Linked DNA regions of Homo sapiens: regions 1, 2, 3, 4 and 6 are each linked to region 5. Evidence: promoter capture Hi-C in 16 types of primary human blood cells and fetal thymus (Javierre and others, 2016). All regions are on one chromosome and are shown on one strand. Each heading gives the region's core, a stretch centred on a gene start or on the middle of the fragment in contact. The rest is flanking DNA. Distances are from core to core; before and after follow the strand shown.

Region 1 (4,042 bases), core at 1,275-3,774, 330 kb after region 5:
AGCAGAGAGCGCCACACCCCAGGAGTTGCAGCCACCCCTGAGCAGGGCCGGATGCAGAGACAGCTGCACCCAGAGCTGCCGCCCTCGGGTTTGGGGCGCCCGTGTCCCTGGAGAGCCAGCAAGGGGGGATGGCTGCACCCAGGAGCTCACGGACGTGCTCATGGGGACAGGGTGGGCCCTGGCAGAGGCCCCGAGAGCCGCTCCCACTGCTGGGAGCCCCTCAGCTCTCCCTTCCTCAGTCCTGGGGACCTAGGCCTCCTCTGCTGTGCTCAGCCCAGGATTTCCTCAGCAGCTTGGAGGACGGGGAGGAGGGTGAGGCTGCCCCCCAACCAAAGCCATGACTCAGCGCCTGAAGCCCCACCCAGGGGAGGGGCACACTGAACAGAGGCCAGGCGGTTCCCCTACACGGGCTCCCCTGGCCTCCGGCCCACTGCACCTGGGCTGCCACTAGGCCCTCCCCAGACCAGGAGGGTGCGGGCAGGGTCCCCCTCTCCCGGGCTGGGGCGACCAGGCTCCACGTTACAGACCACATCTTCCCGCCCACCCTGCCTGGCCCCCCAACCTGGCGGTAGGCCAGGAAACTCAAGTTACGCCCTTAGGGCCTGCCCCCAGGACAGCCTCAGGGAGCCCCTCGAACCCCAGTTAAATCACAGCCTAACCCCAAAACCCACTGGGCCAGGCCATTCTCATCTCCCCACTCCAGTCCATGCCCCACAGGGGTGAGGCACTTTCCCAGGGCAGTCACTCTACGGCACCTACTGCAGCCCCACAGCCCCCATAACTGGCTCCTGTAACAGGCTCCCATGAGAGCCGGTTACCAGAGAGAAGGCCCAGAGGTGAGTGGGTTCCAGCACCCCCACACGACTGGAAGAGGGCAGTACAGGGCCGTCTGCGTGGAGGAGGAGGTCCATTAGGCTTCTGACGGAGGGGCCAGGGAGAAGGTGGGTGCTTCAGCCAGGGTCCAGCCCCCAGCAGGGAGGCCATGCCCACACCTCCCCACAGCCCGGGTCCTCAATGCAGGATCCTAGGGTGCTCAAGTTATTCAACCCCTTTTCCCAGGTCAGCAACAGAAGATGGGAGAGCAGAGGATGGCCCCAGTTCCTCTGCCCAGGGCTGGCGGCCACTCTCCTGGCTGGCCCTGAGCCTCCCACTCCAAGGCTCCTGAGCCTCCTGGTGAGGGCTCCAGGGATACAGAGGCTCCCCGTGCCTCCACACACATGCTGACTTGCCAGCAGATCCCAAGAGACCCAGCGCGCGCGTGCACACCCACACATACACAATCAAGCACACATGTGCAAACATGTTCATGCACAAACATGCCTGCACACACTGGTACCACACATACATGTGTGTTCAAGGAGACACTGCACAGACACGCATCAACATGTGTACCTAGTGATGGAACACGCGTGTACAAGGTGATGTGTCTATTGCTGACATGGCTAACACAGTACGTGAACCCACACAGACAGGTGGTGTGTGCACACGCTTGCGTGCACTCATCGGCAGGCTACATGCAGAAGCAAGCACAGCCCCGTGGCACAGCTCATCCACACGTCCTGTGCAAGGCCTGGTGTCCGGAGGGAGGCACGCAGAGGGGCAAAGTTCACAAGAGCGCACCCCGCACGAGCTCGTGCAGAGGAGGGGGCCTCACGCAGGTGCGCACTTGGGGATGCAGAGAGGTTTCTTTGCCTCCATTGTCGTTTGCCAAATGTCCACCAAGCAAAGCCGATGCACACTTGTGCACACGTCTGTGAACATGTAGTTCACGCAGGTGTACACGCCTGCACGCCACGAATGATGGAAAACATGCAGACTCGGTGTGCACACAACCCCTACCCCCTACCTGACCTTCCCCGCCGCTCTTCTCGGCCGCCACCCCTCCAAGCCCCTGGGTCATTCAAACCACTTCACGTTTCCAAGCACCCTACCCCAGGCCTTAAACGCGGCTCCAGCTGCCTGTTCCCCACGCGCTGCTCTGGACACAGGATCAAGTCAGAGACCAGGGGCCGACGCCCCCACGGACCCAGACGACCCTGGCCAGAGCTGGACTGCAGGGCCCGGGAGGGGCTCAGCCCAGTGGAGGTGCAGACACAGAGCGGGGGCGGACGGTCCCGAGGTGCCCACGGCTGCCCACGCGCACGCCCTCCACCCGGGGCGGCCGCACAGGGCAGGAGCGTCTTTTGTTCCAACCCCCGGGGCATGGCGGGGCGGGGCCGCCGCTTTGTCCGAGGCCGGTCCTCCAGCCCCTCCCCGGCGGCCGCGGCCCGGCCCGGCGCTGACCTCCCCACCCCGCCGCCGGGCACAAAGGCGACAGCGACGCCCCCGGCCTGCGCCCACCCCGGCGGCCCCGGGCGGCGCACCTGAAGCGCGGGGAGTCCTTGACGCACTCCTCGAACTCCACGGTCATGGCTGCGGCGGCCGCGGCGCTCACTGGCACGAGGACCGCGGCGCCGAGCGGCAGCCGCGCCGGCCCGGACCGCTCGTCCCGCCCGCGCCGCCTCGGCGCCCGCCCGCCCCGGAATGAGGCCGCCGCGCCGCGCCCCGCCCCGCCTGTCACCGCCGGGGAGCGTCGCCAAAGTCAGCCGCCCGCGCGCACCGCCCGCTGTCACTGCCGGGGAGCGTCGCCAAGGTCCGCCGCCCGCGCGCGCCGCCCGCTGTCACCGCCGGGGAGCGTCGCCAAACGCCTCTCGCAGCGTCCAGGGACCACCCCGGTCCGGAAGTGAGGCGGGGCCTGCCACGGCCGTCTCCGGGGACAGTCGGTGGAAATGTGGGGCGCGGGGAGGGCGCGGGGAGGGCGCGGGCCCGCCCGCTCCAACCATCCCGGCCGTTGCGCAACTCAGGGCGTTTGCAAAAACCACGTCTGGGAGGACTTGGCCGCAACGCGGCGAACGGGCGCGCTCGGGGAGTGTGGGCGGCGGCGAATGAATGAGCGAGTGAACGAATGCACGCCCGCGAGAGCGCGGGGTGACCGCGTGGTTGGTGCGCGCCTCCCGGGGCGCCGCGATAGAGGTAGAGCGCCTGCGCTCGGCGGCGGGCCGGCACTTTGCAGCCGCTCCCTAAGCCCGGCCCCGCCTCCGCTCCCCGACTCTGGCCGCCGTGGCGCGGTGCCACCGCGCAGGCGCAAGAGCGGCCGGGGCCGGGGGGGAGGGGGGGGGGGCGTGACCAGGCCGCGTCCGCGCGCGCGCAGGATTCCTGCGCTGGAGGCCGCCTCTGACGCCACCGGCTGGGCTCCGCCATGAGTTCGGCGCCGGCCTCAGGCTCCGTGCGCGCGCGCTATCTTGTGTACTTCCAGTACGTGGGCACCGACTTTAAGTAGGTTTCCCAGGCGCAGCGGCGGGCGCCACGTGGGCCCGGGCGGAGGCGGGAAGGAGGGCGCGGGCGGGCAGGCGGATGTCTCTGGACGCGGGTTCCAAACGTTCGGGGAAGGAAGCGGCCCTGGCCTCAGACGGCGGCGGAGACCCCAGGGCAGGGCGCCCCCGGTAACCTCCGCCCGCTTCTGCCCGCAGCGGGGTCGCGGCCGTCAGGGGCACTCAGCGCGCCGTCGGGGTCCAGAACTACCTGGAGGTGCGCTCAGCCGGTCACGGGACGCCCGGTGAGGGGTAAGGGGGAGGCTCCCGCCCGCGCGTCCCCGGGGTCCGGCCTCGCTCACCCGCCCGCCCCGCGGCTCGGTCCTGCAGGAGGCCGCCGAGCGGCTGAATTCCGTGGAGCCGGTCAGGTTCACCATCTCCAGCCGCACGGACGCCGGGGTCCACGCCCTGAGCAACGCGGCGCACCTGGACGTCCAGCGCCGCTCAGGCCGGCCGCCCTTCCCGCCCGAGGTCCTGGCCGAGGCCCTCAACACACACCTGCGGCACCCGGCCATCAGGTGAGCCCGCGACCTAAGCAGCCCTGGGGCTGTGCCTTCCCGACTCCATCTGTCGCGGGCGGAGGCTGGAGATCTGGACAGACTTCCTTGTCTGGTCGGAGCTCGAGGGGGAAGGAGAGCCAATGTGACACCGCGGGCGGGCGGGGTCGTTCCTCCGGTGAGCTTTACCTGCCG
Region 2 (4,069 bases), core at 545-3,044, 360 kb after region 5:
AGGGAGACAAAGACCTCCACTCACCAAACCTCCCTGCACCTCAGGACCTAGAGGGGCAGCAGGGGATGCGGAGCCGGCAGGGCCCCCAGGAGAGCAAGCTGGCCAGGTGCCTCACCAGTCCACCCCCAGGTCAGATAGGCTTGGGAACGGGGCAGAGGGCACCCAGGCAGGCCGCAGAGGGTCAGGGGACACGAACCAGGAGGAGGCCGGGTGACCCGAGCTCAGAGTTCAGAGGGCAGGGTGGCAACCCACACGGCACAGAGGGGATGGCTGGGCAGGGGCAGGTCCCCAGGCCAAGGAGCAAGGCAGGCAGGGCTGTGGTCGACACTCACACTGTGACCTCTGAGGGCCCAGGCAGCAGGCTGGGTAGGATCTGGACGCCGCCTCGTGGCACCCTGCCCTGCCCAGCAGCATTTTCCACGCCCGGGACTTGGGCCCAGTGGAGAAATAGGAGCCCGGAGACGGGGCTTGGCCTGGCCGCACACCTGGCAGGAAGCGGCCTTGTGGCTGCTAGTCCCACTGCGAGCTACAGAGCCACCCCGACTGGCCGCTCCAGGTCCCCTGACCCCGGGGCACCTTGACTCAGCCAGACTCCGAAGCAGTAGGTAGCAGGAGGCCCCCGGCAAAGTGGCAAACCCACACTCTCACCCAAGCCCTGGCCCACCCACTTGCTGGGAAGAGGCCCCAAGCCTCAGGGCAGAGTGGACAGCAGGCAGGGCCAGCCCAGGTGGGAGCAGGGACCCCTACCTAGCCCTCTGGGGTCCTGCAGCTGCCTCCCCAGGCCACCCAGGGCCAGGCCATGAGGTAGACGCCCCCAAAGAGCAGAGAAGGTCACTTCTCAGACCCCTCCACGTCTGCTGCCCCCACACAGGAGCCTTCCCAGGTAAGACCATGACCCCATGCCAGGCTGAGGCCGCCACAGTGAGAGGCTGTCACACCTGAAAGGCTGGAGCAACCCAGGGTGAGGCGGGCCCCACGGACACCGAGGCCACCACTAGCTGCCGCCAGGGGGCCAGGGCCCACAGTGAGCCCTTGTCTCTAATGGACCTGACCACAGCAGAGCCCCTGGCAGGGTCCCCACCTCAGTCCCTGACACACGGCCCCAGGTGGCCTGGCCGGCAGCTTCTCCCCTGCCACACCCAACCCCAGCACCCTCTGACTCACCTGAGGGAGACACTCAGTCACCCAGCACCCTCTGACTCACCGGAGGGAGACTCGGCCACCCAGCACCCTCTGACTCACTGGAGGGAGACTCGGCCACCCAGCACCCCAGTACAGCACCCGCCTGGCTCCACCGGAAGAGGGCCCTGCCCCCTCCCACCATCCAGAGTGGCCCAAGCCCGCATGGCCCACCCAGCCAGGGCCTCACGAAGACCCCAGGCTGCCTGGGATGTCCCTGCCCCCTGCCCCCTCACAGATGTCCAGCCAGGACCCAGAGGCCCTACTCACTCCGCCCTCTTCAGCCCAACAGGGTGTAACAAGTCCTCCCCTGCCCCCAGTGGCAGGGTGCAGACCCAAGCCTGGCTGGGCCAGGAGAAAGGGAGCAGGACCCAAACAGCACAGAGGGAAGGGTGGGGTCTGCCTGGGGCTCCAGGGATCAGCTACCCAGGTCCCAGGCAGAGCCCTGCCGTCCCCACCCCAGCCAGATGGGGGAGGGTGCTGGAGGCTGGCCAGGCATTGGGGGCGTACCCACAACCCGGGGTCCCCGCGCCTCTGTAGCAGCCTCCGCTGAAACTCACGGCAGCTGCCAGGGGCGCCCCTGCCGGCACTGTGCCCCCACCTTGGGATTCCCTGTGAGGCCTGGCTAACCTGTGTGCTGCCCCCACAGACCCGCCCCGGGGAGGAATCCACTCAGAGGCAGCGCCCTGGGAGCCAGCATGGCCACACAGGATGCAGAGAACCCTCCAGACTCCCAGAGGCCACAGCCAGCTGCCCTAGACGTGGCGTGGTCCCGAATGCACCCCATTCTCCCAAGGCGGAGCAGGAAGCTGGCAGGGGTAGCTGGCCCAGGACAGGCGGTGCAGAGCCATCCTGTGCCCTCAGAGCCCCCTGTGCACGCCCCAGGTCAGGGCCCTCAGCCTTGGGGGTCTGTGGCCTCCCAACCCCTGACCCCAGAGCCAGGGGCTCTCCACCAGCCTGTCCCCTGGGTGGTGCCGAGTCCTGGGATCTCTCTGTGCCCCTCCCCCGGTTCAGGACACACAGGCTCAAGTGTCCCTGCTAGGCCATGGCTATGAGTGCAGTAGGTGAACTGCCTGGACCCTCCCAAAACCAGGGAGGCACTCAGGGCACAGAGAGGCTGAGTCACAGACCCCAAGTGGCACAGCCAGGGAGGGCGGAGTGGGAACTCCCCCCACAGCCCAGGCCAGGCAGAGCCTCCCCAACTCCATAGCTCCCCACAGCACCACCCAGGACACAAGGAGCTGTCACAACACCGAGGCCCATGGCAGGCGGCCCTGGGGACCAGGGCTTTGGGCCCACAGCCTTGCCTCCACCCATCCCCCAGTCCCAGGCCTGGGTCACCCCCACCTCGGAGATGAACTGTGGGAGCTGTGCCCAACAGACAGCCTCGGTGCCAAGTCCAGCAGGCCCAGCATCCGCCACGCACCCAGCAGTGGGGACCCGGAGCCAAACACCCTCCCTCCTCTGCCTCGGCCCAAGGCTGGGCGAGACCCCCTGCCAACCACCAAACCCAGCACCAGGCAGAGACCCTCCCCAATTCTGCCCTCCTCCCAGCCCTGGGGATCTTGGGTCAGAATAGCTGTGACCAGGGCATGAAAAGTGGAGGACAGGCGGGGGACCTTCACCCACTGGGCCAAAGCCGTGCGTGGGGAGTGGGGTCCAGACCAGGGCACGTGGTTGTGGCCATGACACAGGCTCCCTGCACTGCAAGGTGGTCAGTCATGCTCTGGAGCAGAGGCTGGGGAACCAGGGCTGGGCTGAGAATGCAGCGGGGGCTGGCGCAGGAACCCCCGACTCACCAGGGCCTCCTCAGCGTCCCCAGCCTGAAGCTCCCTCTCTTATGAAGGCCACCCCAGACCAGCGAGGACCTGCCTTCTCTTCCCCCCATCTCCAACTACATTCGCTTGGCATCCAGGGTCAGTGTCTAGTTCAGCAGTCGCTTAAGCTAAAGTATTACTGACCAACCAGCCCCTCCCACGGGGGTTCTATTCCACAGAACAGACAGTGCTGAGAGGTCTGCGGGTAGAACTCAGGGGAAGGGATGAAGGAAGTAATTGATGAGGGTCCTCCGTAGGCTCCTGAGGCCACCAGCCAGAGGACCAGGGAGGACACAGAGCAAGGCCCCCATCCCAGCCAGAGGACCTGGGAGGCTACAGAGCAAGGCCCTCGTCTTGGACCTCCAGCATCACCCCAGTCCATTCTTTCCAACCCCCACAGCCCAGCCCAGCCCAGCCCTGACCTCTGCAGCCCCACTGACTCCCAGCCCCCTGTAAGTCTGCAGCCTCCAAAGCTGTACACTGAAGCTCCCCTGTCTCTTTCCTGGCCGCATCCCCAAGCCTGCCTCGACACCCAGACCTGCCCACCCTGTTCCCAGGCCCGGGCACCCACGCGTCCTCCAAATGTGCCCAGCAGGTGCAGCCACTGCTAGAAGTGCACTAGGGCAACAGTCAGGCTGTCTCTGCCCTGGGCAGCCCCCGGTGGGTGTCAGGAGCAGAAGGCGGACTCCCCCAGGGCTTCATCCCAGAGCATGGTCCAGGAGCAGAACCTGGGGGCTGGGCACCTCCTCACTACGCATTTCCTGGTGGCACACATTTGCAACAAACAGCATTAGTAACTTTGGTAACTTTCGTTAGAATAATAAACTAAGTCAAAAACAAAAGTACCTGACACATGCCCCATGCTCAAGGCCAAAGCAGCCCAGGCCCAGAGAAGCAGGGACTGCAAGGTGCCCCAGCTGGGGAGGAGCCCGGACCAGACTCAGAAAACAAACCGCCCCCTCCTGCCCAACCTGACCGGAGCGGGCAGGAGGGCCGCTGAGCCGAGTGGGGAGCGCCCAGCCTTCAAAGGCTGCCAAGGACGCACCCTGCCCTCTCTGCTTTGCCTGGTCGTG
Region 3 (4,016 bases), core at 1,378-3,877, 420 kb after region 5:
TAGCTGGGATTACAGGCACCCGCAACCACACCCGGCTAATTTTTTTTTTATTTTTTTTTGAGACGGAGTCTTGCTCTGTCGCCCAGGCTGGAGTGCAGTGGCCCGATCTCAGCTCACTGCAAGCTCCACCTCCCGGGTTCACGCCATTCTCCTGCCTCAGCCTCCCAAGTAGCTGGGACCACAGGCACCCGCCACCACGCCTGGCTAACTTTTTTGTATTTTTAGTAGACGGGGTTTCACCGTGTTAGCCAGGATGGTCTCGATCTCCTGACCTCGTGATCCACCCGCCTCGGCCTCCCAAAGTGCTGGGATTACAGGCGTGAGCCACTGCACCTGGCCAATTTTTGTGTTCTTAATAGGGACAGGGTTTCACCATATTGGTTAGGCTGGTCTCGAACTCCTGACCTTAGGTGATCCACCTGCCTAGGCCTCCCAACGTGCTGGGATTACAGGCCAGCCCGGCCAGAGGCTGTGTTTTCTAAAGGACTTCAATTAACTTCAGGTGCATAAACCCTGGGCTAAGGTCAGAGGCAGCGGTTCTCTGCTGGAGAAATTTTACTATTCCAGGGCCATGAAGCAACATCAACAGACTTTCGTTTTTTTTGGAAACAGGGCCTCACCCTGTTGTCCAGGCTGGAGTGCAGTGGTGACATCACAGCTCACTGCAGCCTCAATCTCCTGGCCTCAAGCAAACCTCCTTTTTCAGTCTCCCAAGTGCTGAGATGACAGGTGTGAGCTCCCACATCTGGTATGAGAGAATTTCTGGCTGTCACATCTAAGGTGGGGTACTCCTGTCATCCAGTGAGTCGAGACCAGGGATGTTGCTGAATCCTGCAGCACACAGGAGAATCCCCTACAACTAAAGATTACCCAGCCAGATGCGGTGGCTGAAATCTGTAATCCCAGTGCTTTGGGAGGCTAAGGCCAGCAAATCCTTGGAGCCCAGGAATTTGAGACCAGCCTGGGCAACACAGCATGACCCCATCTTTACCAAATAAAAAATAAAAATTAGCTGGCATGGTTGGCGTGCTCCTATAGTCCCAGCTACTCAGGAGGCTGAGGCAGGAGAAACTCTTGAGCCTAGGAGGTTGAGGCTGTAGTGAGCCATGATCATACCACCGCACTCTGCCCTGGACAACAGGAAACCTGTCTCAGGAGGAAAAAAAAGATTATCCAGCCTGAATGTCAATAGTGCTGAGATTAAGATTCCCTGCTCCAGAGCACTCAGAAACTTGTGGGACAGAAGCAGCAGCAGGGCCGTGCACTGACATGGGTAAAGCAGGAAGCCAGCCCCAGCGCGACCCGCCACAGCGCACTGTCCTCACTGGAGCCCCTGCCCTTACTAAACCGCATCTACTGATGCCTCTGAGCAGGCTCTGTTGGTGGAGCTTGAGACTGCGCTCATGAATATCCCACAGGTTTAGAGCCTCAGGCCTGTATTGTGTTATACAAGCCTTACTGTAACTTAATCAGAAATAAAGAAAATAGGCATCTATGATAGACTAGACAGCTCTGACTGACTCACTTTTTGTCTCTCAGCTGTCGAAGGCGGTGAAACACATTGATGACGTCCCGTATGCGTCTTGGGGCCTCTTCTATCTTGGAAGCCAGGTGGACACAGGCCATTGACACATGCTGAAGCGGAAGCATTGCAACACGCCCATGTTTGTCCCCAGCCACGGCGTCCTGACGGCCGCCAAAGGCTTGAGGGCTATTCAGACCAAAAGGGAGGTGCACCCAGGGGAAAAAAAAAGTCAAGAAACAGAACCCTCCGGCACAGAGCTCAGACTGGGGGGCAAGTACTCACTCCCTTAGTAACCGGGCAAAGTAACAAACCGTTTTACCCTCAACATACTTCGCTGGGAATGAAGTGCAGGAGGAAGCCTTACCTCCATGGAGTGCTTCACGAAGGACTTGGTATAAAAGAACCGCTGGAACAACACCTGCCCGGTAGCCATGGCCACCTAGAGTAGAAGAAAGTTTCCGTATTTTCAAACGCACCATTCAAAGCCTTCGCGGCCGAAAGTCATCGAGTAACGTGGGACTCCCCACGCAGAACCAAACACTGAAACGCTTCCCACGTCCACAAAGGCTCTTCGCGTCCCGCCGTCTCGGGATCCAGCGCACTGGCGGGCGGGGAGGCCCCGGGTCAGGGGCATGGGCTGGCTAGGGAATGGCGCCGAGGCTGGGGTCGGGGCAGGGGCTGGGGTCGGGGTCTAGGCGGGGGCGGTGCGGGCCCGACTCGCCGCCAACAAAGGCGGCTGCCGCCCCAGCGGTTACCTGGGCCGGAGGCTCGCGGCCGCGCCCTCACCTGCGGCAGGCGGAGCAGGATACCGGCCGCCTGGATGAGCTCGCAGCCCACCACGCGGAGGTCGGTCTCTGTGTCGGTGTCGAGGCCGCTCGACATGGACGGCGTGAAACGGAGCTTGTCGTCAGGCAGGAGGCAGTTCTCCAAGGTGATGAGCACCCCGGAGTACAGCCTGTCCCCGATCAGCACCCCCTGCGACCCTGAGGGTGCGCCCCCAGATCCCGGGGCGCCGGCCGCTGCCGCGGGAGCTGCCGACCCTGCAGCACCAGCCGCCGCCGCCGCCGCCGCCATTTTGTGCCGCCGACTCCCCTTCGGCTTCTTCCCTCAGGGCGGCTCCTCGCGAAGCTCCACGGCCGCCACCGCCCCGCCCCGTCGCGTGCCATTGGTTCGGCCCGCGACCAGCGCGACGCCGCCTAGCCGCAATTGGCTACATAACCTGCCCGTCAGCAACGCGCCTAACGCCGACGCCGGAACCTGGCGCGGGTGGGGCGGGCTCGTTACCCAGGGGACTCCGCGGTGCCGGCCGACCCGGAAGCATGTCTGTCCCTAGCGGAGGCGCGGGTGCCGTGCTGAGAGCGCCTGCCTGTGCGCCCCGAGCGGGGCTGGGACTCTTCCAAGATGCCCACGTTCGCACAGAGACCCCGGATCGCGGAAGCTCGCGTCTCGAAAGGCCTGTGGGTCAAGGGGGGCCATCTCGGTGGGATCTGGGGCGGGACGACCCCCACTGCTGAACCCTGGGCGCGGGGCAGGGTCAGAGGCTCCGCTCGGCCTCCCCCTGGATGAGACGCGCATGCCCGGTGTCCCCCGGCCGCCGTCGGCGTCGTGTCTTCAGTCCTTATCGACTCCAGACTTTGGGGATGCGTATTAACGCCAGACTCCTGCAAAGTCTTGCCTTCAACACTCAGCCCCTGGGGAGAGACGGGTGGAGGGATGACTGGAAACGTGGCCTCGACGTCCCTACAGAGCCCCTCCAGCGTGGGGAGGCCTAAGTACCTCAAGGTTCAGGCCCACGGAAGGAGTCGGGGGAGCGAGGCCCGGTGATCTACGTGTGAAGGAGCTTGGACAGGACCTCACAAACGCCAGGGAGACGGCGAGGGGGTTCGTGCGTTTGTAACGTCTTGACATCGCTGATCCTCCCGCAGGCGGTCTCACGCCCTGCCCGTCCTGGGTTCACGGTTTTTCATCACCTGCGGCTGTCCTGCGATCGACCACAGCTGTGCAGGAGGGGCAGGAGGTATCTGTTGCTGCAGTTACCGGAACCTTTGCCAGGACTAGTACAGGACCACGGGTGAGGATGGTGGGGAAGCCTGCGTGGGGCAGGGAACGGTGAGGCAGGAAGAGGGAAGGGCAGCAGAGGCCTGAGTGGTTGCAGGTTCACACACTGAGCTGCCAGTAACTGCCCAGCTCAGACGGGCTCAAATTCAGAAGCCACCATTGCTCCTCACCCCCACCCCCAGGTCAGCTGTCCACTAGCTCTGCCATGACTTGATACTGCAGCTCAAACAGTGCCAACCAAAACCCACTCTCCTCACCGCCTGTTATGGGTAACACGGTATGGTTACAGCTTTACTCATGTCCTCTTTCCCCAGGCTGGTAGCTCAGGGATGTCTCGTCTGTGAGTTACAGCTGCACGCTCTCCAGGAAAGAAGGAATTTCCTCTTCTCTGGAAACCCCACCACACAGCTGGTTTCTCATTGGTGCTGCTTGC
Region 4 (3,919 bases), core at 1,224-3,723, 300 kb after region 5:
ACACATCTAAACACACATATACACTCATCCAAAAACCCTACAGCTTTTGCTTTACACCTCTAACCATGACATATCAACACAAAGTCACTAGTTAGAAAAACAATAACAGAAAGAAACATCTAGATGCAAACTGTGGATGTCATCTCAGTAGAAAAGTAACAGCTGGTCAGGCACGGTGGCTCACAACTGTAATCCCAGCACTTTGGGAGGCCAAGGTGAGTGGATTGCCTCAGGCCAGGAGTTCAAGACCAGCCTGGCCAACATGGTGAAACCACGTCTCTACTAAATTTACAAAAACTAGCCAGGCGTGGTGGCGCACACCTGTAATCCTGGCTACTTGGAAGGCTGAGGCAGGAGAATCGTTTGAACCCAGGAGGCAGAGTTTGCAGTGCGCCGAGATCGCACCCCTGCACTCTAGCCTGGGCAACACAGTGAGACTCTACCTAAAAAAAACAAAAAGTGTAACAGCAGCTTTAAGGCAGGCAGCAAAGGAAACAGAGAGATAGAGAACTTAGGAACTCTATAGTTCTTTTTTTTTTTTTTTTTTGAAACAGAGTTTTGTTCTTGCAGCCCTGGCTGGGGTGCAATGGCACGATCTCAGCTCACTGCAACCTCCGCCTTCTAGATTCAAGCTATTCTCCTGCCTAAGCCTCCCAAGTAGCTGGGATTACAGGTGCATGCCACCACGCTCGGCTCATTTTTGTATTTTTAGTAGTGATGGGGTTTCACTCTGTCGGTCAGGCTGGTCTCGAACTCCTGACCTCAGGTGATCCGCCCGCCTTGGCCTCCAAAAGTGCTGGGATTACAGGCGTGAGCCACTGCGCCTGGCCAGGAACTCTATGGTTCTGTAGTTGCAGGCTGACCTTTGGGCTCTGAATTTTTCCTGGATGGAATTTGCCCATCAGTTTAAAATGTGCCCCAAAAGACCATAATATGGAACCAGCTGGGGCACTAGGAAACCCAGCATGCCCGCGACATGTTCAGTTTTATACCAACACTTGCAGGTAGAGGCGCCTGAAACCAGCGGGGTGCCTGGAAGGAGGTCGCCCTCTTGTCTTTGCTGAGGCTTACATTATTTATTTCCCACTTTTTTTTTTCTTGAAAGGAACCGAGCTGTGGCCTGGGGTTCCATGGAGCAGGTGGGGCGCGGAGGAACTGAGCTGTGGCCTGGGGTTCCGTGGAGCAGGTTGAGTATGGAGGAACTGGGGTTCCGTGGAGCAGGTGGGGCGCAGAGGAACCGAGCTGTGGAATGGGGTTCCGTGGAGCAGGTTGAGTGTGCCGGTCGTGGACGGGTCGTGGGCGGGACTCCCCAGTGTGTCACCACTGAGGCATCTTCGCCCTCTTACGTGTCTCTGTTTCTCTCTCTAGAAGTCCAACACCTCCGAGAGGACTCAAAACACAGAGTGACCAGCTCCTATGTGCATTTCCTGGACAAACCTTTTTTTTTTTTTTTTTTTTGAGACGGAGTCTCGCTCTGTCGCCCAGGCTGGAGTGCAGTGGCACGATCTCGGCTCACTGCAAGCTCTGCCTCCCGGGTTCACGCCATTCTCCCGCCTCAGCCTCCCAAGTAGCTGGGACTACAGGCTCCCGCCACAATGCCCGGCTAATTTTTTGTGTTTTTAGCAGAGACGAGGTTTCACCGTGTTAGCCAGGATGGTCTCGATCACCTGACCTCGTGATCCACCCGCCTCGGCCTCCCAAAGTGCTGGGATTACAGGCGTGAGCCACTGCACCCAGCAGACAAACCTTTTTAAACTAATTGTGTTGGGGGGTTCCCTGTGGGGCTGCTGCACGTCGTGGGGGATCAGCCCACGAGATACTCCCACTTGGCTCACAGTCACCCAGGGGCGCCTTTCAGCTGGGAGGAGCAAAATGCCTTTCTTTCTGGAGCTGAGAAAACTCAGTCTCTCATTTATCTATGCAAAGAACAATTCAGTTCCTCATGCAAATGCACGCACAAGCCAGTTGGGCTTAATTTTGGGAGAAAAAGCAACAGAGAAGACCCTTAGGAACGCACGTCCGAGCTAGAAACCAAATGGGGTACCCAAAAGGGAGTCGTTCTCCTTGTCTTAAGAAAAAGGTGGCCGGGCGCAGTGGTTCACACCCGTAATCTCAGCACTTTGGGAGGCCGAGGCAGGCGGATCACCAGGTCAAGAGATCAAGACCAGCCTGGCCAATATGGTGAAACCCCATCTCTACTAAAAAAATATACAAAAATTAGGCTGGGCGCAGTGGCTTATGCCTGTAATCCCAGCACTTTGGGAGGCCGAGGTGGGCGGATCACGAGGTCAGGAGATCGAGACCATCCTGGCTAACACGGTGAAACCCCGTCTCTACTAAAAATACAGAAAATTAGCCAGACGTGGTGGCGGGCGCCTGTAGTCCCAGGTACTCAGGAGGCTGAGGCAGGAGAATGGCGTGAACCCGGGGGGCGGAGCCTGCAGTGAGCCGAGATCGCGCCACTGCCCTCCAGCCTGGGCGACAGCGAGACTCCATCTCAATAAATAAAAAAAAAAAAGAGTTGTTATCAGTAGAAGGGAATGTCTGGTTACAGTATGGCGTTGTGCAGATGAAGGTCTTATCGCAGATGAAGCCACCAGGTCACAAGCCTCAGAGAGAATCAACTATAAATGCTTCTCATCAGACTCAAGGCCTGAGGTGATGCTGATGCTGTGCCTGAATTCCAGCAGGGAGGAGGCATGAGGTGCGTCCGACTCCCTTCCCATCACAGCTGAGCTAGTTTTTCAGGTTAACTTTGGAATGCCCATGGCTAAGACCAGGGGTCCATCCAGACAGTTCAGGGCTTATAATTTTATTTTTGGTTTATGAGGGAACCTAGAAGGCAGCCCACACGCACCTTACTCCTCCCAGCAGGGGACACCGGCCAGACCCCAAGCTCCACACTCCCACCCTCAGCACCCACCCAGGCCAGCAGCCGGGGGCACCTTGGTGCCACCTTAGTGCCTGTTCTGCGGAGGCTCCACTGGACAGTGCAGTTGATGCCCGGGGCCGAGGGGGCTCTGCCTGGGAGGCTGTTCACCTGCCTGGGTGCAGGACCCCAGAGGGACCCCAGGCCACCCCTGGCCTGCCCATGCCCACGGGAATCCCGACCTTGGGCTGCCTGTCTATTGCACCAGAACCGTCCCAGGGCTGACTCAGAGTGACCCTGAGTGGGGGACGCTCACCCCAGGGGAGGAAACGGGGCTCTGGGATAGGAGGTCCTGGCTGGGGTCCCACAGATGCCAGGCGCCTGCCATCTCCAGGGCAGTGCTGTCACAGAAGACAACACCGCTCCCTCGTTACCTGTGGCCCGGCCACCTCAGCGGCCCAAGGAGGTGAGCTCACAGCCATGCTCGGTCAATGGGGCCTGGCCGTCTTTCCTGGGAGAGAGCAGAGGCATGGGCCCAAAGGGAGCCAGGGATGCCTGCCCGTCCCTTCTCTCATTCAGGCTCACCTGGTCATGGTGCAGTGACCACAGGACCCCCACATGCCGGGAGCTGGGTTCGCCCCACCCCACCCCCTGCACCGGGCCAGCGAGGGGATGGCCCAGAAGAGGGGGAGGACCATGTGGATTCACCAGTGCTGGACATGTGCTCTGTGGCTACCCCCTCTGCCTACTCTCTGGCCCGATACAGGGGTGTGGGACAGGTGACTGAACCTCAGCCCTTAGAGGCCTTGCCCGGGAGGAGGGGAGGGGGGTGGAGCCGGGAGCTGCGTGATCCAGCCGAGATGTGCTCTGACTGAGGCCCTGCAGGGCATACGGGTCATGGAAGGGGTGCTCTGCCCCCGGCCAGGGCTCCCCCTCCTACAGGAAGCCGGGGGCCTTGCTCCTGCAAGCTGCCCTTTGGCTGGACCGGGCCCCACTGGCCGGACCTGGGCTCTTTCTCTCTCTGCACCCTGCACCAAGGCTGGGCTGTCT
Region 5 (2,500 bases), core at 1-2,500:
GCCCAGTTGGGAGAGGTGGGGCCCTGGGGGGACTGCTGCCACTGCTGTCCCCTTGGTCAATGTCACTGGACAAGAGCTCGTCCCCAGAGGCCAGGCCGGCCTGCAGGAGGCCACACTCATCGGCGGTGGCTGAGAACTCGGCCCAGTCCTGGTCACTCAGCTGGACGCTGTACTGGAAATTTTCCATGTGGAGTCAGCAGAGGCACTGGAGGGTAGCAGAATGGGTCCGGTGGGGTCTTCATGGGTTCAGGCCCCGGGCACCACCCTGCACATGCCGCCCCTGCCCCACGAGACCTGGGAGCTCCCACCGCCTCGGGGCTCCATCCATGCCCTGAAAGGAAGAGAACAGCATCTCGAGGGGAGGGCCGCGCTTCCTTCAAACCTAGTGGTGACGATTTCCAAGTTAGAAGATCCCCAGCTCCCATGACCCTAGTTCCCAACGCACCCCAAATGATAGCTGTGTGATGATGCGGTGTTACATTCCTAGAATCAAGGATGATTTTCTACCAGTGAAGCTATAAAACCAGCCGTCCTCAGGTTTGAATGCTCTTTCCCATCACACCTCAGCTGGGGCAGCCTCACCTCCTCCACCTTCTGCCAGAGCTGTCTTTGCACGGCAAAGCACCTTTCAGGGTCCACCCGATGGGACCAGTGCCCTCGGGGGTGGGCAGCCCTGGTCCATCCCAGTGCGCCCCAGCTGGCAGCCGGCCACAGGAAAGGTTTACAGGGCCCAGCAGGTGCCCAGCCCTCGGCGATGACCTTCCGATCGCCTTGGCTGGGCCAGGCTATTCTCTGAGCTCACCAGGTGGTGCTGGCCAGAGCTGGCCCAAGTCAGCACGGAGAGCCTGGGCAGGAGGTGCAGGCTGCGGTGGGTCTCTTGACCCAGCAGCCACCTCGGGCCGTCCTCGAGGTCTGCACCACGATCCAGGCCTGCCCGGCTGCCCGGGGTGCCTTCCTTTGCCCCGTCTCAGAGAAGCAAGGAGACCCTAGCCAGCTGTCGGGTCTACCCCTAGAGGGGGCCGCCCTCGGCCTCAGGTCAGCCCCTCTGGACCCAGGGGTGGGAAGTCACTTTGGTGGGGACGGTCCTGAGACGGAGGCCAGGGCATGGTGGCTTCCCACCCACTGACCTTCGCCCTCCTCTCTGGTCTCTTGAGAAGCCTCTGTGGGGGTTGTTACCATTGGGGCCCCTTGGGTCAGGAGCCAGCAGCTGACCATGTCCTACCTGGGTCCCGGCGGCCGAGCTGGGCGTCTGAGCTGCCCGTCCTGGGTCGGCATGGTGCTAGGCTGTGGCTGCACAGGCTCCTCCCCCTGTGCCAAAAATACCACGTCCCTGTGGCCACATGAGACTCGTGCCAGCCATCAGGGTCCAGGCCACAAATAGATGGCATTTGAGGGCCCTCCAGCTACAGTACATGAGGACGACTTCCTGGCACGGGGCCGGGCTGAGGTGGGGTCAGACACGGGCCGGAGGACGCTGACCAGCAGGCAGCACCGCTCAGTTCCCGTGCCTCCGCCACCCGCGGTGAAACCTCAGACCTGCCCTCCCTGCCGCCCCTGGAATGTTCCTGGCCTGCTTCTGAGATGGCCTCTGTGTCCCGGCCAGGGCTTGTGCCTCCCGGTCCTGACCTCTGGGGCTCATGTGAGGGTGAGTGACGCCAGGGAGCGTCAGCGTCAGAGCCCCCACGCCTGGCTCCGCTCAGCTGCACCCTCCAGGCCGTCCTGACCTTGGGGTTCACGGTGCCCATTCCCAGGCAGGTTCCGAGCCAGAGGGGACAAGAGGACAGGGCGAGGGATCCAACAATAAACATCCGATCAAACAGGCAGGTGAGCTCAGCTCCGATGGCAGCACGTCCTGAGAAAGAAGTAGGGAGAGGCGTGGCTGGAGGGGCCGGAGACCTCTCTAAGGAGGAGGCTTGGACCGAGAAGCTCCTGAGAGTTCAGGGCACGATACTAGGAGACTGGGGTGTGCGCCGTGAGGGGTGGCAGTGAGAGCTGGGCGTGCAGAAAGTGCATGCCTGGTGCCATACGATGCTTTTCCAGAAAGTAGCTGCCACGAGACCACAGGACAAGGCGTCCCGCCACGCAGGGCCGGCCTGACTTGAGCTTTCACAAGTGGAATCGCACCCTGCATCCCTTTCTGCATCTGTGTCCTCGGGCCCACGCCGTGCTCTGGAGACAGCTGCCATGAGGGCCGCGGGCGACTGCCCGGGCGGGTGAGGCTGTCCTGTGTGAACGTGCCACGCGGCTGTGCCGTTTCCCGTGGGTGGCGATGTGGGTCGTTTCCAGTTTGCAGCTACCACACACGGTGCGGCTGTGAATATCTGGGAACATTCCTTTCGGCGAACCTCTCACATTTCCAGGACGCTTGGGGTCAGCGTCAGAAGGTGCCGCCCCGTTCCCCAGGTGGCTGCGTGGCCGTGCTCCAGGCTGGAGTTTCCCAGGAGCTGCGCATCTGCTTCTGTGTGGCGTCTCTCGGCTGCGGCCGCCTCCCTGTGCCTCC
Region 6 (4,034 bases), core at 1,317-3,816, 470 kb after region 5:
TTTTTGAGACGGAGTCTCGCTCTGTCACCCAGGCTGGAGTGCAGTGGCACAATCTCGGCTCACTGCAAGCTCCACCTCCTGGGTTCACGCCATTCTCCTGCCTCAGCCTCCTGAGTAGCTGGGACCACAGGTGCCCGCCACCATGCCCAGCTAATTTTTTGTATTTTTAGTAGAGACAGGGTTTCACCGTGTTAGCCAGGATGGTCTCCTGACCTCGTGATCTGCCCATCTCGGCTTCCCAAAATGCTGGGATTACAGGCGTGAGCCACCGCGCTCAGCCTTTTTTTTTATTTTTTATTTTTGAGACGGAGTCTTGCTCTGTCACCGAGGCTGGAGTCCAGTGGCACGATCTTGTCTCACTGCAACCTCCGCCTCCTGGGTTCAAGTGATTCTCCTGCCTCAGTCTCCCGAGTAGCTGGGACTATAGGCACAGGCTGACACACCCGGCTAATTTTGTGTATTTTAGTAGAGACGGGGTTTCACCATGTTGCCAAGGCTGATTGCAAACTCCTGAGCTCAGGCAATCCACCCGCCTCGGCCTCCCAAAGTGCTGGGATTACAGGCATGAGCCACTGCACCTGGCCTACGATGATAACTTATAGCAAACTTTACTTTTGCTGAAAACCTTGCGAGTTTGGGATTTTAATTATCCTTTGCTATTAATAAGACTTCATTCAGTCTAATATATATATTTTTTAATGTATAAGCCACTTCAGGCCGGGCGCAGTGGCTCATGCCTGTAATCCCAGCACTTTGGGAGGCCGAGGCGAGTGGATCACGAGGTCAGGAGATCGAGACCATCCTGGCTAACATGGTGAAACCCTGTCTCTACTAAAAATACAAAAAATTAGCCAGGTGTGGTGGCAGGCACCTGTAGTCCCAGCTATTCGGGAGGCTGAGACAGGAGAATGGCGTGAACCCGGGAGGCGGAGCTTGCAGTGAGCCGAGATAGCGCCACTGCACTCCAGCCTGGGCGACAGAGTGAGACTCTGTCTCAAAAAAAAAAAAAAAAAAAAGCCCAGTTAAAAGGCATACTTAGAATTGGTATAGATGGTTCCTTCCTGGTTCTGTAAGTACTTTGAGGCTTGGCTGAGTGCAAACAGCTCTCATGCTTGAGCAGACCAGTTATTAGGAAACTTTCTTAACTCTATTTTTTTATTTTTTATTTTTTGACACGGAGGTCTTACTCTGTCACCCAGGCTGGAGTACAATGGCGTGATCTCGGCTCATTGCAGCCTCCACCTCCTGAGTTTAAGCGATTCTCCTGCCTCAGCATGCTGAGTAGTTGGGATTACAGGTGCTTGCCACTACGGCCAGCTAATTTTTGTATTTTTAGTAGAGATGGGGTTTCACCATGTTGGCCAGGCTGCTGTCGAACTCCTGACCTCAGGTGATCCTGACCTCAGGTGATCCACTCGCCTCAGCCTCCCAGAGTGCAGGGATTACAGGTGTGAGCCACAGAGCCCGGCCTCTTAACTCTATTTCCACAAGAGTTTTTCCTGTTAGTTACTGATTACCCATTGTGTCTTTTTCCTCGAATCACCTGGGAGGAACTATCTTTAAATAAGTGTCGTCCTGTAATGCACTACGGCCGTCTGTGGGTTACCACATTAAGGATAGTTGTCAGTGGCCTCCATGCCTTTCGGTAAGTTGTTTTTTTTTTTTTTTTTGAGACAGAGTCTCATTCGTCGTCGAGGCTGGAGTGCAGTGGCACTGTGTCGGCTCACTGCAACCTCTGTCTTTCCTGGGTTCAAGCAATTCTCCTGCCTCAGCCTCCTGCATAGCTGGGATTGCAGGCATCCACCACCGCACCCGGCTAATTTTTTGTATTTTTAGTAGAGACAGGGTTTCACCATGTTAACCAGGATGATCTCCTGACCTCCTGAACTGCCCGCCTCGGCCTCCCAAAGTGCTGGGATTACAGGCGTGGTGAGCTGCCACGCCGGGCGTACTCTGGCTTTTAAAAGAATGGGGCACATTGCTTTTTCTTGACTACTTCTATCTCTCCTTTTCTCTCTCTCTCTAACTCTGTCTCTCTCTCTCTCTGGCTCTCTCTGTCTCTTTGACTCTGTCTCTCTCTGTCTGTCTCTGTCTCACTCTCTAACTCTGTCTCTCTCTCTGACTCTGTCTCTGCCTGTCTCTCTCTCTCTTTGACTCTCTCTCTCTCTCTGACTTCCTCTGTTCCCTCTGTCAGTCTTTCTCTCTCTTTGACTCTGTCTCTCTGACTCTGTCTCTCTCTCTCTCTGACTCTCTCTCTCTCTCTGACTTTCTCTGTTCCTTCTGTCAGTCTTTCTCTTTCCTCTAAGATTTTTTTCCCTTTCTCTTAGAATCTCTTCTACAGGCTTATTTTTCTAGTTCTTTCTTTTGTAATTTGTGGTTAATATCTGGCCAACTGTTAGTGACAAATTCCTTGCCCAAGAGGATCCTCGACACCTCGACCAGCATATTTTCTCATTTGTTCTTTTAATCTGTCTAAAAATTATGTCGCAGGCCCTTTATCTTTTCCTTGCTGTATGTTAAATATTCGGGTAAGATTCTGGGTTCCGGGCATGGATTCTTTAATCCCCTTCATGATTAACTCCCCAAGGTCCTGCATATTTTCTCAATGGGCCACCGCGCCCGGCCAGAAGATTTTTATGGTAAAATTTTGTGATGGGAAAACTCATCCCGGAAAATGTTGAGACCTGATGCTGAGTCCTCAGCAGCTCAGAGAATACGTACTTCTGTCCCAGGTCACCCAAACATTGACCTGTGTCGGTTCCCCACTAGGAACAAAATGTAACTGAGGACGTTGTCAGATGCTTGTCCTCGTCACCCTGAGCTTGTTGGCTGCTATCTAATTCTTATTCTTTCATTTTCTTGCCCGCACGTTCTTGATAGCAGATCACTGACAACAGCCATTGGAAGCTTAGGAAAAGGGTATGTGCCGGGCGCGGTGGCTCACACCTGTAATCCCAGCACTTTGGGAGGCTGAGGTGGGCGGATCACGAGGTCAGGAGATCGAGACCATCCTGGCTAACACGGTGAAACCGTCTCTACTAAAACTACAAAAATTAGCCGGGTGTGGTGGCGGTCGCCTGTAGTCCCAGCTACTCGGGAGGCTGAGGCAGGAGAGTGACGTGAACCCGAGAGGTAGAGCTTGCAGTAAGCAGAGATCATGCCACTGCACTCCAGCCTGGGCCAGAATGAGACTCCGTCTCAAAAAAAAAAAAAAAAAAAGCATGTGTAACGTGAAAAAATGGACACTTTAGCCATCGCCTGACTTTCTGTTGAATTGGGAAAGAGCCTCCTCCCGTCCACATGGGATGGCCTTCCTGATGTGGCTCTCCAAGACCATCCCTGGAGGGCATAAAACCTCACAAATGCATCAGGCCGTGTGCTGGGGATGGGGCATCGTCACGCCAGGTCTGACTAGGAAGGAGGATGGGGAGGCAGGGCTGGGGGCTTTGAGGTCGAGGCGTGGCCGTGGATTCCAGAAAGCCCCTTGGCTGGTGTGCGTGCCTGCCCAGCGGCATCCGTGTATCCTAACACCTGCCCTCCGTGTCCCTGCATCTGCAGGCCATGTCAAAGGACGCCCTGAATCTGGCGCAGATGCAGGAGCAGACGCTGCAGTTGGAGCAACAGTCCAAGCTCAAAGTGAGTGGGGCCGGTGTGGGCGGGGAGGCCGGGGCACACATGGGGTTCGGGCGTGGAGATTGGTAGGGCTACTGCCGGTGGGTAGGGCCGGGGGTGTGTACATGGGCAGCAGTGGGGCCCAGGGCCAAGCTTGGGCGCCTCATTTCACAGAAGGAAACAAGGGGAGGTGAGAGACGCTGCCGCAGAGCCGCCCGAGAGGGAGGGCCGGTGTTGGTGAGGGCGTCTGGTCGTCCTGAGGGCCTGGATCTTCTTGACATTCTCACCTCATTTCTTTGACTCAGCAGGATTTTTTTTTTTTTTGAGATGGTGTCTTGCTCTGTCGCCCAGGCTGGAGTGCAGTGGTGCGACCTTGGCTCACTGCAAGCTCCACCTCCCGGGTTCACACCATTCTCCTGCCT

What was found. The method cuts DNA at HindIII sites, captures the fragments that hold promoters and counts their contacts. A CHiCAGO score of 5 or more calls a contact.
Region 1: a contact is called between the fragment with the promoter of ACAP3 here and the fragment with the promoter of PERM1 in region 5, in 9 of 17 cell types (naive CD4 T cells, activated CD4 T cells, total CD4 T cells and 6 more). The highest score is 9.9, in naive CD4 T cells.
Region 2: a fragment that was not itself captured here is called in contact with the fragment with the promoter of PERM1 in region 5 in 2 of 17 cell types (naive CD8 T cells and total B cells); the score reaches 6.4 in naive CD8 T cells.
Region 3: a contact is called between the fragment with the promoter of CCNL2 here and the fragment with the promoter of PERM1 in region 5, in 1 of 17 cell types (activated CD4 T cells). The highest score is 6.8, in activated CD4 T cells.
Region 4: a contact is called between the fragment with the promoter of SCNN1D here and the fragment with the promoter of PERM1 in region 5, in 13 of 17 cell types (activated CD4 T cells, naive CD4 T cells, M0 macrophages and 10 more). The highest score is 15.8, in activated CD4 T cells.
Region 6: the fragment with the promoter of ATAD3C here is called in contact with the fragment with the promoter of PERM1 in region 5 in 6 of 17 cell types (activated CD4 T cells, total B cells, naive B cells and 3 more); the score reaches 12.9 in activated CD4 T cells.

What each region holds. Positions count from the first base shown.
Region 1 is chr1:1,305,406-1,309,447 of GRCh38, forward strand. ACAP3 (ArfGAP with coiled-coil, ankyrin repeat and PH domains 3) reads right to left here and starts at 2,525. Exons shown (of 24, transcript NM_030649.3): 1 at 2,364-2,525. The coding sequence starts at 2,410. It overlaps PUSL1 (pseudouridine synthase like 1), which reads left to right and starts at 3,192. Exons shown (of 8, transcript NM_153339.3): 1 at 3,192-3,315; 2 at 3,510-3,567; 3 at 3,681-3,868. The coding sequence starts at 3,239. RefSeq lists silencers at 2,074-2,293, 2,344-2,513, 2,554-3,233, 3,454-3,523, 3,554-3,693 and 2 more. The HindIII fragment of the contact is 38,674 bases long and covers 1-4,042 here.
Region 2 is chr1:1,343,794-1,347,862 of GRCh38, forward strand. All of the region lies in intron 1 of DVL1 (dishevelled segment polarity protein 1), which reads right to left. Among named protein-coding and RNA genes, the nearest start is that of DVL1, 3.6 kb to the right of the region's middle. RefSeq lists enhancers at 2,248-3,126, 3,328-3,957, 3,958-4,069. The HindIII fragment of the contact is 5,737 bases long and covers 1-4,069 here.
Region 3 is chr1:1,396,708-1,400,723 of GRCh38, forward strand. CCNL2 (cyclin L2) reads right to left here and starts at 2,628. Exons shown (of 11, transcript NM_030937.6): 1 at 2,312-2,628; 2 at 1,890-1,964; 3 at 1,526-1,635. The coding sequence starts at 2,599. MRPL20-AS1 (MRPL20 antisense RNA 1) reads left to right here and starts at 2,823. Exons shown (of 3, transcript NR_015434.1): 1 at 2,823-2,982; 2 at 3,451-3,596; 3 at 3,898-4,016. RefSeq lists silencers at 2,341-2,520, 2,591-2,830, 3,121-3,180 and an enhancer at 3,566-4,016. The HindIII fragment of the contact is 37,128 bases long and covers 1-4,016 here.
Region 4 is chr1:1,277,963-1,281,881 of GRCh38, forward strand. SCNN1D (sodium channel epithelial 1 subunit delta) reads left to right here and starts at 2,474. Exons shown (of 18, transcript NM_001130413.4): 1 at 2,474-2,704; 2 at 3,264-3,335; 3 at 3,449-3,648. The coding sequence starts at 2,700. LINC01786 (long intergenic non-protein coding RNA 1786) reads left to right here. Exons shown (of 3, transcript NR_185846.1): 3 at 1,106-2,645. The HindIII fragment of the contact is 8,116 bases long and covers 1-3,919 here.
Region 5 is chr1:980,843-983,342 of GRCh38, forward strand. It overlaps PERM1 (PPARGC1 and ESRR induced regulator, muscle 1), which reads right to left and starts at 1,251. Exons shown (of 4, transcript NM_001394713.1): 1 at 1,223-1,251; 2 at 1-331. The coding sequence starts at 187. The HindIII fragment of the contact is 23,754 bases long and covers 1-2,500 here.
Region 6 is chr1:1,447,123-1,451,156 of GRCh38, forward strand. ATAD3C (ATPase family AAA domain containing 3C) reads left to right here and starts at 2,567. Exons shown (of 12, transcript NM_001039211.3): 1 at 2,567-3,636. The coding sequence starts at 3,562. The HindIII fragment of the contact is 12,234 bases long and covers 1-2,905 here.